Linked DNA regions of Homo sapiens: regions 1 and 2 are each linked to region 3. Evidence: promoter capture Hi-C in 16 types of primary human blood cells and fetal thymus (Javierre and others, 2016). All regions are on one chromosome and are shown on one strand. The core of a region is centred on a gene start or on the middle of the fragment in contact, and the rest is flanking DNA. Distances in the headings are between cores, read along the strand shown. Region 1 holds the start of PACRGL (parkin coregulated like). Region 2 overlaps FAM200B (family with sequence similarity 200 member B). Region 3 holds the start of LCORL (ligand dependent nuclear receptor corepressor like).

What was found. The method cuts DNA at HindIII sites, captures the fragments that hold promoters and counts their contacts. A CHiCAGO score of 5 or more calls a contact.
Region 1: a fragment that was not itself captured here is called in contact with the fragment with the promoter of LCORL in region 3 in 8 of 17 cell types (naive CD8 T cells, non-activated CD4 T cells, total CD4 T cells and 5 more); the score reaches 17.1 in naive CD8 T cells.
Region 2: a contact is called between a fragment that was not itself captured here and the fragment with the promoter of LCORL in region 3, in 1 of 17 cell types (naive CD8 T cells). The highest score is 5.2, in naive CD8 T cells.

Annotation. Positions count from the first base shown.
Region 1 is chr4:20,697,289-20,701,463 of GRCh38, reverse strand. PACRGL (parkin coregulated like) reads right to left here and starts at 1,006. Exons shown (of 9, transcript NM_001258345.3): 1 at 677-1,006. RefSeq lists an enhancer at 774-893. The HindIII fragment of the contact is 2,624 bases long and covers 134-2,757 here.
Region 2 is chr4:15,682,464-15,686,841 of GRCh38, reverse strand. FAM200B (family with sequence similarity 200 member B) reads right to left here. Exons shown (of 2, transcript NM_001145191.2): 2 at 1-606. Among named protein-coding and RNA genes, the nearest start is that of FAM200B, 2.8 kb to the right of the region's middle. The HindIII fragment of the contact is 1,207 bases long and covers 2,011-3,217 here.
Region 3 is chr4:18,019,459-18,023,914 of GRCh38, reverse strand. LCORL (ligand dependent nuclear receptor corepressor like) reads left to right here and starts at 2,160. Exons shown (of 8, transcript NM_001394446.1): 1 at 2,160-2,317. The coding sequence starts at 2,164. RefSeq lists an enhancer at 1,529-1,788 and silencers at 1,839-2,298, 2,619-2,948. The HindIII fragment of the contact is 12,000 bases long and covers 1-4,456 here.

The DNA.
Region 1 (4,175 bases), core at 196-2,695, 2.7 Mb before region 3:
CAAAACAAGATAAACATTCTAATTATAGATATTAGAATCCATAAATCCACTTAACTTCGAACACCTAAACTATGTCACAATATCAGAAAGCAAACAAACCACCCTATGAAGCCCACACATTCCCCTTAAAGCTTCCTTGGTTGCTACAGGTCATCTATCTACAAGGGACTGCCGGTATCTGTGTCAATGGTAGGAAAGTGTACTTTCTATCATTGTTTGGGCAGCTGATATAGCCTATTTCTTTCCCTGTATGTACTTTCTCCCGTACTCAGCTTTAAGACCACTGAACTAAAACAATTCTCAGTCAGCAGAGCCCTGCTTTCTAATCCAGGTCTAGAAAGTTCCAAACGTGTAAGTAAGAGCCCCACTAAAGAAACCATGTTCCATTTGTAAAGCTCTGTCAAATTCTAAAAGACCCAGAGCCCAATAGTCACTTATCCCAGTCCCTTTTTTACCAGAAAGTAAATTCAAAGGGCCAGTATTAGGGTCGCACAATCTGCTTAGGGGTCTTAGAATCTATTTTCCACCTTCCCAGCCACCCCTCCTACACTCACTTCTAGATACTTAAAGACCAGTCCAGAGCCAGGATGCTATCAAAGTCAGCAAAAGAGGAAGACACAGAAAAAAAATAAAGAAAAAACAGAGATTTTTTAAAGGGGCCGAGGGAGGAGTTTACCAGTTTCAATTAAGGTTAACGAAGGCTACTCTCGACTGACCCTCTACCCCAGGAAAGGAGGGGTACACTCCAAGCGCTCACGATCTCAAGGGTCCTTAGCAACGGGGTCCAGCGGCCCTAGCAACAGATCAGGAAGCAAGCCGGCTTGGCAGAGAGCGCAGACAGGACACCTGTACCCGCGGTTCACGGCTCCGGGGACCCGTTCCTACCGCGCCTCTCTCCCGCCGCGATCCGCACACCAGCTGCCCCCCACCGGGGGGGGCTTATGACCGGCACTCGGTCGGCCAACAACCGCGGCTACCGCCACCGAGCGCCTGCGTTTGGGGAAATGAGGCTCCGCGCGGCCCGCCCCTGAACCTGGTCGCGCCGCGCAATGACGTCAGACGCACGCTGCGTCGTCTAAACCAATGGTAAGAGGTCGCGGAGGCGCCCCAGAAGAGGGTTGCCCAGGCAACCAGGCGCCAGGAGTTCAGGGGGCAGCTCACGCACTGCAGGCGCTGTCTCTGGCGACAAAGGGGCACGTGGTGGAGGATGTTTTTCGAATAAGAGGTCCGGAGAGCAGAGGGACGATGACGGGTTCCCAGTCGCCTGCGCCCTAGCCTCTCTTCAGTCCATGTGCTTAACTCCTAAACGCTTTTCTCGCACACTTAATACTCATTGTTCCTCAGCTATCTTACCCTCAATACTCGGAGAACTGAAGACTGTGAACTCCTCCCCCCGAGTCTTCAGGGGTGAGAGCCGAAGCCATCTGCATGCCCAGCTGTGGGATTTTCTTGTAGTTTCCTGTTCTATCTGGCTAAATCATAAGCCTAGCTGTGGAAATTCGTTTCCTGTCGTATTTTATGAATCTCATATGCTATTGCATTCTTCACAGTATATCCGCATTTAAATAGTAAAAAGCACGATTTTGTGCTCTACATTATTTTTAATAGTAAAAATATTTAATAGTGAAAAGCACGATTTTATGCTCCACATCATAACAAAACTGATGCTGCAGGAAAATGCATATTCCCTTGTATTGCATTCCACCAGCAACAATTTGGGTTGTCATAGTTAAGTCCAAGCCCTTTGGACCTGTCCACTGCACTCCTCTTTAGCATCCTCTACTGTTGCCAACCCAAAGCCCTAACTTTTTGCTTAGGTAACACTAAATTGGCATTGTCTGAGCACTCGAGGCTGTGTAATCCTTCTGTGCTCCTGTAGCTCCATCCTTGCTACTTGACCAGCACCCCAGAAGCATCTTCATTAGATTGTGAGTTTCCTCAGGATAAGGATTTTAACTTTGCCCTTTTTATTTCTCCAGCTTCAAGCATAATGCAGTGGGTATTCAACTAATGTCTTCTGAATGAATAAAATGAATTAATAAATTCTGTCTATGTCTAATTTCTCTAATGTTCTGTGAACCTTGCATACAAATCTAAGTTTTAAAATTTATTATAATGTATTTACCTATCTTTCTCACTAGACTGAAATTGTCTTTATTGCTTTTCTATCCCCAATGCCTAGCGCAATGCATGCTTAACTAACGTTTTTAAAAGGAAAAAGAAATTTTTAAAAAAAAAAATCTTATATCCTGTATCTTCAGCTACTTTTACTTTATAATCTCTCATCTCCAGCTTCCTCAAGACTTATTATATTTTCCTTACTCCTAGCATCTCCAGTGTCAGACTCAGTAGAGCTCCTAGTTCGTGACCTTTTAACCCCTCCTCCCTGGACTATAAGAATGATTTGTATTCAGTATCGCAGAGGAATGACAAGCATATGTGTTCTGGAGTTAAGCTATCTAAAACTCACCACCCCTTATCAGCTATGAGTCCTTGTGGATGACGACTCCTACAAGCCTCAATTTCCTCTTCATTATTGGGTTATTGCGAGACTTAAATTTAAGAGGACAATTGAATACCTGACACATAGGAAGTACTCAATAAGTATTAGCTAGTGCAATTATTCAGGTGAAAGCAAATTAAGACTAACGTGGAGGACATCGTAAGTGGCAAAAGTCTCATGCTATGTGTTGGTGTATGAACCATGGACGATGACACGGATTTTTCAGATCTTTATAATAACAATTAGTATAAGCTTCTCCTAATCACAGTTAAAACAGCCTCTTCTAAACTTTCTGTCATCATTTTAGAAAATGAACAGAAAACATGCTCCTTGGCATTGCAACTCTATCAGGATATTATGCAATAAGTGGTGGGTGCTTTCTTGAATACACTGGTTTGACAAGCCTGTGAGGCATCCAGGGGGAGCTAACTAGCATGCTGTTGGATCTGCTCATCTAGAGGGCAGGAAAGAGAACTGGGCATAGCTATGGATTTTTGAGCCATCAGCATATGTAGACGCTGAGTTGGGCGATAGGAGTAATACCTTCTAGGAAAGCTCACAATATGTGAGAAACAGAGCACTGATTGTGGACTTTTGTCTTCTATTCAGGTTTTAAGGTTTAATTTTCTATTTAAGAGAGAATGGGATGAGGGAAAAAAGGTGACCTATTTGCCTAGCAATATAGTAAATGATTCTGAAAAGACAGAATATGCCATATATTTTCTGTTTGCTCTCATATAGGTACACTCTTCCCTTTGTCCTGTTATTTGCTCTGGGATGCTGATCAGCATAAACTATATCACCCAGGCTCCAGTGCCCTCTGGTTTCTGATTGGGTTTGGCTACTGAAGAACACTAATAGGAGATTAGAGAATTAGAGGAGAGTGAAGTCAGAGTATTCATTCTCCTGCTCCTATCCTTAGGGGGTTCCCTAAAGCTGGTCATACCCATAAGTGAAGATCACATCTTTCTGCTATAGTCTGATTGTTTCTGTTCCTCCAAAATTCATAGATTGAAATTTTAACTCCCAAGGTGATGGTATTTGGAGGTGGGGCTTTTGGGTGGCGATGAAGTCATAGGGTTGGAACACTCGTGAATGGAATTAGTGCCCTAATAATAGAGGCCTGAGAGAGAACACTCACTCCTTCCACTATGTGAGGACACAGTGAAACAATTTCATCTGTGAACCAGAAAGTAGTCCCTTACCAGACACTGAATCTGTTGATACTTCGATGTGGACTTTCCAGCCTCCAGAACCATGAGAAATCAATTTCTGTTGTTTATAAGCTACTCAATGTACGGTATTTCACTATAGCAGCCCAAATAGACTAAAAAACTTTCTAAATGGCAAACTTCAGTTCTAGGCACAAAATCTCAGAGGCTACTATCTCTAGGTTACTGCACTGTCTGTGTGGTACCCTGTACCTTTATAAATAAAATTTCTTCAAATTGCCCTATTTTTGTTACTCCATATTATATAACCTTATGAGTTAGGTAATAAATCTAACCAAAGTAAACCACTCAGGACGATTTTTTTTCTCATTGTGCTGGTTCTCATTGACTTGTGAAAAAATTATTCATTATTTATTTACTTACATTTAAGTCACCAAGCATTTTTAAGAAAATATTGTCTTAATTCTTGTAAAGAAAATCTCTGCCTTTTTGTACAAATT
Region 2 (4,378 bases), core at 1,365-3,864, 2.3 Mb after region 3:
GACTTCACAACTAGTTGCAAGTAATTGTAATATAAAACTTGACTATAGAACATTAACCGTGCTATTATGAAAATCAAGCAAGACACCCAGGAATCAATGACTGAAAACCATTTCTTAGCCAATATACATTCTATTCATCATATCTCCTCCATCAAATACCCCTCTCGCATATTGAAATTGACCTCAGCATTCCTTGCAATGTGCACAATTCAGGCAAAGGATTCATGCAAAACACTTTGGTATTTTACATTTTATTTTGTTTTTTAGACAAATGTTCATTGTGACTCACAGAATTGATTTCATGCCTCACTAATGGGTCTCACATATACCATGAAAAATACTGATATAGAGACATTTTGTGCCTTTGCTGTGTTGGTACCTTGAGTATGTCTGCTTGATGATGAAAGAGACTGGCTGATCTGCTAGACTGTTGACTTGTATAAGAACATCTTGAAGTGGTGGGAATTTATCTTAGATTTTCATTCCTGGATCATTTTTATGGTCTGATCCAGTGAGGAGCCAATGAGGTTTTCCATGGCTAGGTCAAATATCAGGTTGGAGTTGATGGTATATTTTTATAGAACTTTCCTGGAATGCATCCTTGACCTGGGAATAAGACCAGAGATAAGACATTAAAGCATCACAGTACAAAGTAGTATTACTGCCAGCTATGGGGGCCTTTATGATATCCAAGATCATAGATGGTGAGGCAAACAGTCTATAGCTCTCTTTATCACTATCTTATATTGGCTTAGGCCTATTTCTGTAAGGCAAACCACTTCAACTGAGATTAGTAAATAGAAAAATAGTGACAGTAAAACCCAGAAGTTGGCATCAGGACTTGGAAAGTATATTAACAAAACAGAATACAGCAAGCCATGAAGGAGTATAGCTTATTCACCATACATACTTCCTTTTTGCTTGGCCGCACCTATCTTGGTCATGCCTGCCTTGGTAGTGCTGCACTGCTCTCTTGGATCATAGTATATTTCAGTCTTATGACCATAACAGTAGTTTCAACCCTTCCTTACACACCTTTCCATCAAATTATCTCAAATTTTTTGGGAGGGGTGCAGTCCTACATTTACTGTAGTGTTTATTTATTAAAATTTCCACGTCTTAACTGTGTTAATACTGTATCTTTATTATGACTGTTTGTATTAATTGTACTTTCTTATTTTTGTATTGTTAATCATTTGGTATCTAGGTGGGTCCTTGATGACTGGAGAGGTACTACCTCTCCCAGGGTTAGCTAATTCCTATGCAAACTAACCAATCCAGAATCCCCCAACTCCCAACACAGACATCTTGGGTTCTTATACTCCTGGCCAATATTGCCCTATCCTAATCACTCCAGACCAGCTACCAGGCAACTAGGGATATCCCCTACGCCCGAAGTCGGCCAAAATTATTTCAACTAGCCAATTTTAAACCTGTTCAAGCCTGCTTATCCAGTTTTGCCCATTCCTTCCTCAGAAAACCAAATAAAGGCTTTCCTGCAGTTTCCTTGTACTTCCTCTCCCCATTGACCCTGCTGCTTCTAGGTATGGCACCCTTGCATGGTGTAAGGTGCCATGCTTCCTGTTTCTAGGGATCCATGAGTATAAAAATTTCTTCTTTCATGACAATCATTTTCACATCTGCATATCTTACCATATCTGATTAAAATAAATCCTGGGTACATTTTAAAACACTATTATTTTGTGTTATTGGTCTAGTTACAAAGTTGTATAGTTTGGCCCTAAACCTCTTTTTCCTGATCAGGTTTTATACCTTTTAATACAATTATTTTGCAGACCATGACTTCTTCTAGGAAATCAAAGTCCTAAATGCTTTAACGATGGTTAAATAGCTACAGATTACATATGGTACCTGATTGTACCTTAAAAGGTGTGCATCTGGGAGAGAATTCAGGACCTGGTAGATGCCTTTGACTTAATCTTGGTTAGATGCTTCCTTGAAAGATGACATGTTACAAATAGTTAACCTTGGCTGGAAAGAGACAAAGCTTTTCTTAGGAGGTTTTATGTCCTCTGTCGAGGACATTAGCAGGACTAAAGAGTTTATGGTACATACCTCTTGCATGTCCCAGCACAGTGGGTGGTCATCAATGTATTCAGAACTACACTGCTAAAGGCAAATGCATCTAGATCTCTTTCTAATGCATAAGAAAAGCTGAAGGGCAATACACAGCCTTGAGGCAGTCTAAGCCAGATAAACAGCTGCCTGAAAGGGAATACTGACTCTTCCTTCCATAGTTAAAAGTTCATATAAGGATGCTAACATGTTTTAATGCTTCAACTTTCCCCCAAGAAACCTCAAACTACTACAATTTTGTCCTTCTGCCACCTCTCCCTAGATATTTATCATATATAGCTCAAGAAAAACAGTGCTAAACAAAACATGTTAAACAAAACATGCTACAAAGTCTTTTGTTTGACTTTCTTTACTTATATCTCCGAAAGCGGCTTTAATGAGAAGCCAGAGGAATTTTAGGGGAGAAGTTCAAACCTGAGGTTCTGGCCTAAACATAAATTCTGGAACTTTAATTTAAATAGACATGCTCAATTAGTACTCAATGTAAATCAGAGCATGTTCATACCCGAACACGATCAAGTACACCAGTGTGATTCCATAACCCAGGTGGGTTCTGCTGGCCCAAACACCAAAGACCTATAAATGTGTACACTGATGCTTAAGATGTGTGCACTGAAATTGGCTCCTGCGGCTACATGGCAACATTTCCAAGTAATAACTTTATTCAGCTATCCATCTACTTAGCCTCCCTTAAGAATTGCAATTAAGGTAATCAAATATTTGTAGTTGAAAGTTTCTCATACACCAAGGTGCATTAACACGGTTATATGATATGGTTTTAGGTAAGTGATTTTCCACTAATAAATCTTATCTACCTGTTCCTAGAATAGTGCTTGCTGTATGGTAGTTACTCAATGCATATGAGAGAATGAGAAAATTAATGACACCTGTAGTAAACTGTACAATGTACACTCTATTTTTATCACAGTCAGTAACAAATAAGTTATCCAACTATATTTGGACAACTGGGAAATATGTAAGACGAAGGCTAATAAAACATATTATTTAAAACAGGATTGTTAAAGATTCTACTTCATAATAAACTGCTTATGTTAAGAAATAGTAGAAACAATGATCCTATAAAAACATACATGTAAATTTAGATTTAGCTTTTAAAGCTTAGAACCTAAATCTACCTGAAAAAAAGAAATATACATTAAAAAAGTATCTTATTTTTATATTACTATATATGGATCATTTATCTCTTAGAAGCAATTGTCTTTTAACTATTCCATTCTTTCATATTCTTACTATTCACGTTTCAATCCCCCCTTGAAAGTTTGTAACACTAGTTCAGTTACTATTGTATTAAAAAGATATTTTTAAAGGGTTTACTCTCCCTCCTAAATCAGACAGTTCATCTATAGTAACAGCAGTGGCAGTATATTAGGGAACAGGTCTGGTAGATGTGGTGATGAAAGCATGGGGAAGTTTTTTTTTAACTCAATAGGATGTGAGGTATCATCTAAGTAAGAGGCCGAAGTAGAAAATGTTGCAAGTTTGTCAGAAGAAAATATGAAATATTAATAATTGTTAAGGAATGTGATAATATGATGGACTAGGAAAATGTTTTTGGATTTTTAGTCTGGCTGGTTGTCTTACTTGCTTAATGCAATGATTGTTATTGTTACAATGCTTGATAGTCTAAAATTCCCCGTCACTAATCTTTTATATCCTAAGATATATCTCTAGTGCGCTGTATCATCTTCTGAAAATACAGCTCTAATCAGCTTCCTCATAACTGGAAAAGCATTTAATGGCGCCGAGCTTGTGTAAGCTCTTCAGGATAATATCCTTTAAGCTTAAGCCTCATCTTTCCAGGTTTCTCCTTCATCACATGATCTCCATACATTCTACATTTCAGTACTAAAAGTATGGAAATTCTTGAAATAGTTCATGCACTTTCATGTCTCTGCTTTTGGCTAGTATTCCTTTTGCCTGGAATACTCTTGTTGGGTCACATGAAGTCCTATTTATTCTTTTCTACTTAGTTCAAATGCTACAGCAGCCATGCATTCAACTAACATTTAGCTACCTACAGTGCCTAAAGTATGTCAGGCACTGGAGATACTAAACAATGAACAGTGACATATTAAAATAACAGAATATCTGTTCAGCTATTAAGATGAATAAGGTGGAGTTACACAACACTGACAAATCTCAAAAACATTATGTAAAACAAGCTAGCTGCAAAAAGATGTACACATTACAGATTGCATAAAGGTGGTTAGGAGAGTGGTTTCCTTAGGCAAAAGGAAAGAGAATGAGACGGGGTAGAGCT
Region 3 (4,456 bases), core at 911-3,410:
ATAGGAGTAAATCTATTTTGTAGTGTGAAGAAAGTGAACTGTAAACTGGTGACCAGAAGGATAGATCACAGTAATCCTTGATACTATTTACCAATAAATTCTGGTTATCTTCTTTTTGCACATATAATAGGATCGCACTTCCCTGCTCCCTTTAAGATAGATACGCCCGAATAATTCGCTTTGGTCAATGAAATGTGAGAACTGACTTGTATCACTTTTAGGAAGAACCAGTTCGCCATTCTTCATCTTCCTTTTGCCTATCACCCAAGGGGGGACGTTGCAGAGATTCCAGCCTCTTTAAGGATCCAGTTGCTTAGTGAGACCACATGGAATGAAGCCCCCTCCTCCTGCCACCCAGAGATGAACATGTAGATAATCAGGAAATAGTTTTTTGTTGTTGTTTTAAGCCACTAAGATTCTTGGATCATTTATTACTGCACCATAATTTTTCCCATCCTAACTAATGTAGATTACTATAAAAGTGATCAGGAAAACTGCAAAGGCTGATCATCGTGGCAATTGTGAGTGGAAGTGGTTAACTAAAACCATCCACTGACAATTCCAAAATCACCTTCACTAGTGATTTCACCTGCACTCCAATTGTGACCGTTCTAGAAAAGGTGATTATGCGTTCAAACTTTATTATTTTTAACTTATGAAGATGCAAAATTACATCTTCACTACTGAAGTCATAATGAGCAAAGAAATACTTTCTCATAGGAAGAAAAAGAAGGTGGATAAGGATAAGCCACAAAACAGGGAAGGTGGTACTGAATTCAGAGTTTATGAGATTTCCAAGAAGAATTAAACATATTTCCCACAGACTTGTGAATAAATTTCCAGAAATACACAGTACTTCTTAGCAAACGTTGGGTAGCTTAGCTTCGGCTTGATAAACTGCACTTATACGGAAACAAACGCACAATCGCTCTGGTGCAAAAGTAAAAACTGTGATTGGAGTCTGTATTTAAACGTAAGATTCCTCTCTAGCTCTCTCTGAAGAAGTTATTTTCTCTAGCACGTGGTAGAATTCATTCCATTAACCTTTGTAAAGTGCTTAATCCCGTGTCACGCACTGTACTAGGGTCTAGCGAGTGACAGATGTCACGGTACAGAGATCTCAGTGGGTCGCTGCCCTCCAGGAGCTTATAAAGAAAATTTTCCTTCTGCAGTTTTCAGCCGGCTACACCCAGTCCCCTGCAAGTAATTTTCAGTGAAAAAAACCCGCATCTTTTTCCTAGTCCTTGCAAATATTCTGGCTTTCCGAGATCTCTTCGCCTTGAATACCGAAGTCACTCCGGGATCTCTCTCTGGACGTTTGGCAGTTATTCCAGATGTAGCCGAATGACCGGCTTGCCCTTTCCCTGCGGAGTGACAGGAAGACAGCGACCCCGGAAAGTTTCCAGCACTTAAAACGCAAAGCGCAGCCTGAACCCACAAGGAGCCGACAACTCTTGCGGCTTCCACCACCCTTCTATCGCGGAGCCTAAGGAAGCTAAAGCAGTCGGGTCAGACCCGGCCACCGGGCAGCGCATGGTTCCGGGCGCAGGGAGCGACAGACTCAGCCCCCCAGCGGCGCGGCGCAGAGAAGTTGCAGGCCAGCCTGCATACCCAAGTGCGGGGGGGAAGAAAAACAAACAAACAAAAAAAATCCTTTCTTCTGGACTACAATGACCGGCAAGCAACGCGCCACGGCGCCAAGTTCAGCTTCGGGATCCTGGCGAAATGGAGCCTGGGAAGTGAAGTCTCCGGACTGTCGGAGTCCCGTAGTGAAGGCAGAAAGTAGGCGTTGCTAGTCCGCTCCACTAGCACGCCGGTTCCTGGCTGGGCTCCGGGTCTCTCGCTCCCGCTCAGGGTTTTCGCGGGCGGCGGGAGCGGTATGGCTCGCCTGAGTAAACTCCAGCGGGAGGGGGAGGAGGGTAGTGGGTGGGGAGGCGGGGTCAGCGGAAGCGGCAGGTTGCTTCCTTCTCCTCTGGCTCCCTCCCCGCCTCTCCCTGAGGGAGCGGTGGGAGGGGGAGGGCAGGGCAGAGGGAAGGTAGTGACACGTGTCAATCAACCCCCCTCCGGGGGGCGCGCGCTCCGGGGCTCGCGCCGAGGGCTCGCGCCCCTGCCTCGTGCCTGCGCTGCTCGTATGTAAATGAGGGCGCGTGACGCGGGACGCAGATGGACAAGGGAAGAGAGAGAATGGCCGCTGCCGCCGCCGCTGCTGCCGCCGCCGCCGCCGCCGCTCAGTGCCGGAGCCCTCGGTGCGCGGCGGAGAGAAGAGGATTCCGGCGGGAACTCGACTCTTGGCGCCACCGCCTCATGCACTGTGTAGGTAAGAGAGACGCGGGCCGGGGCCCCGGGCTCCGCGCGGCGACCGCTGTCGCAGCCCGAGGAGTTTGTGGCTGAGGGGTTTAGTTGAATCTCCCGTTCGGGTTAGTTCGGTGGGGGAGCGAGATGGGAGCGGCGCGGCGCGGCGGCCCCGGCGCTCGCCTTTTGTCTTGCGGGCTGCTGGCCCGGCGCGGTCCGCGCTCCTTCGCCTTCCCAGCTCTTGGGCTCCCCGGGAACTGTTAGTTTGGACCCGCTTGCTGAGCCCCCGCGGAAGCCGCCCGCTCGCTCTCTCCCCGAAACTCCTCGGCGCCCGTCGCTGCCCGCCGTCGCCCGCCGTCCACCCTGACAGGACGGAGGAAGCGGCCCGGTGGGTCGGCGCCCTGGCGGAGGAGAGCCGGCGGGCAGGGCGGCCGGAGGAAGGCGGGCTGGTCCGCGCCCCCGCCGAGCGCACACACACCCCCTTGTCGCCGCCGGGGGCCGGGTGAGCAGACGCGGCCAGTTCCCGGGGACCTGGACCTGGAGACCCACGGGCACTCGCAGGGCGGGGGCCGCTGATGGGCCGGCTGGGGGCGAGGGGCGGCGGGGGCGTCGTCCGAGGGGCGGGGGGCGCCCAACTCTGCCCTCTCGCGCTCGGCGGCGGCGCTGTGTGTACCCCTTTAAGAAGGAGCCGCTTGAGCGCTGACGGTTGGGATTTGAAGTTCTTCCTCCCTCTTTGGAAGTCTGGACGGATGGGGGGTGTTGCCACGGCAACGACACCCTCCCCCCCGTCTGCTTGCGGACGCCCCGACGACTCTGGTCCTCTTTCACTGTCATGTGATGGACTCTTCCTTACACACACACACACATATACACGCATACGCATCGCCCTCCCCACCTCCCATCCCCATTCAACTGCAATTCCCTCTTTTTGGTTGGATCTGAATCGTTTTGCCTCAAACTTCTGGGCTTGGGGCTCTCACCCTGTGGATTGTTTAGGGTGACAGGAATGGTGGGACTCCCGACCTTGCTGCAGTCGCTTTTTTTTTTTTCTTTTTTTGCCTAAGACGAATGCATAGAGCTGTTATCCAGCAGGTTGGTTTAGTGGGCTTAGAGGGGCGAACACGGATTATGGAATGGGGCGCGTTGTGGGTGTTTGTTTTGGAAGGGGGTTATGGGTGGGAGTGTAGGGGAAGAGGTAGAAAGGAAGGTTGTATTGTGTAAGCAGTGGATAGTGGCAGCAGCTTGCTCTACTGGCGAGTGAATCTTGGCATTTGGAGTTGGGGAGTAACCCTAGTGTCTTAAGAAAACAACTCTCTTACCTTGTTTCCATCTGCTCTGGCACCACCTCGCACCCCCGACCCCGCCTCCCATGTATTTGGTTAACGTCTTAAGATCTTTTTTTGACTAGTAGAGAAGAGATCGTATTAGGTTAAACTTAATACAATTTCAGTTCAGAAATGTGTACCGCAGAACGCGATGAATATAGGAAAATGTATGAGAAAGGAAGGTTACTTTAGGGGGCATTTAAGTGATGTTTAAGTAATTTACTGCTTTTGTTTTGCCCTTACGAAAAATGTATTTTGGTCTTCTCTAAGGAAAGATGATGAGAAATAGCTTTAGTCAAGTATTCGTAAGTGATTTTAGTTTATGAAGTGTAAAAAAAAACCTCTAGGTATTCTTTATATAAATTGTTTAAAAAACTAAATATTGTTGTTTGTGCTTCTTGAATACAAAATGGGCTGTTTTTGATAATTGCTTATGTAAAGATCTCTTCTGGAAACCAATTTAGAAATTACTGAGCTCATTTAGGTAGAATTAGGTAGGATGACAGCATTGCAACACTGGCTTATGATATTACTGTTAAGTTTTGTCAAGGCACAAAGTGATTTGAGGATGTCTTTTTATGTTTTGGAATATTTTGGTTGGTTTTTTTTTCTGGTCTTCTTGCTTATTTAGATACATTAAGTATAGCTTTGCATCATAAAAATAGATAGACTTGAAAAATAGTCAAACTTTAAATGAAACACAATTCATTGGATTTGATGGAAAAGGGGACTAGAATATCTTTTTGCCTTACCTACTTGTATATTCAAGTAAAATTGGAAGACATTGAAAGTTACTACTGTATTACACTTTTATTGCAATATGTGATTACATTGTATCG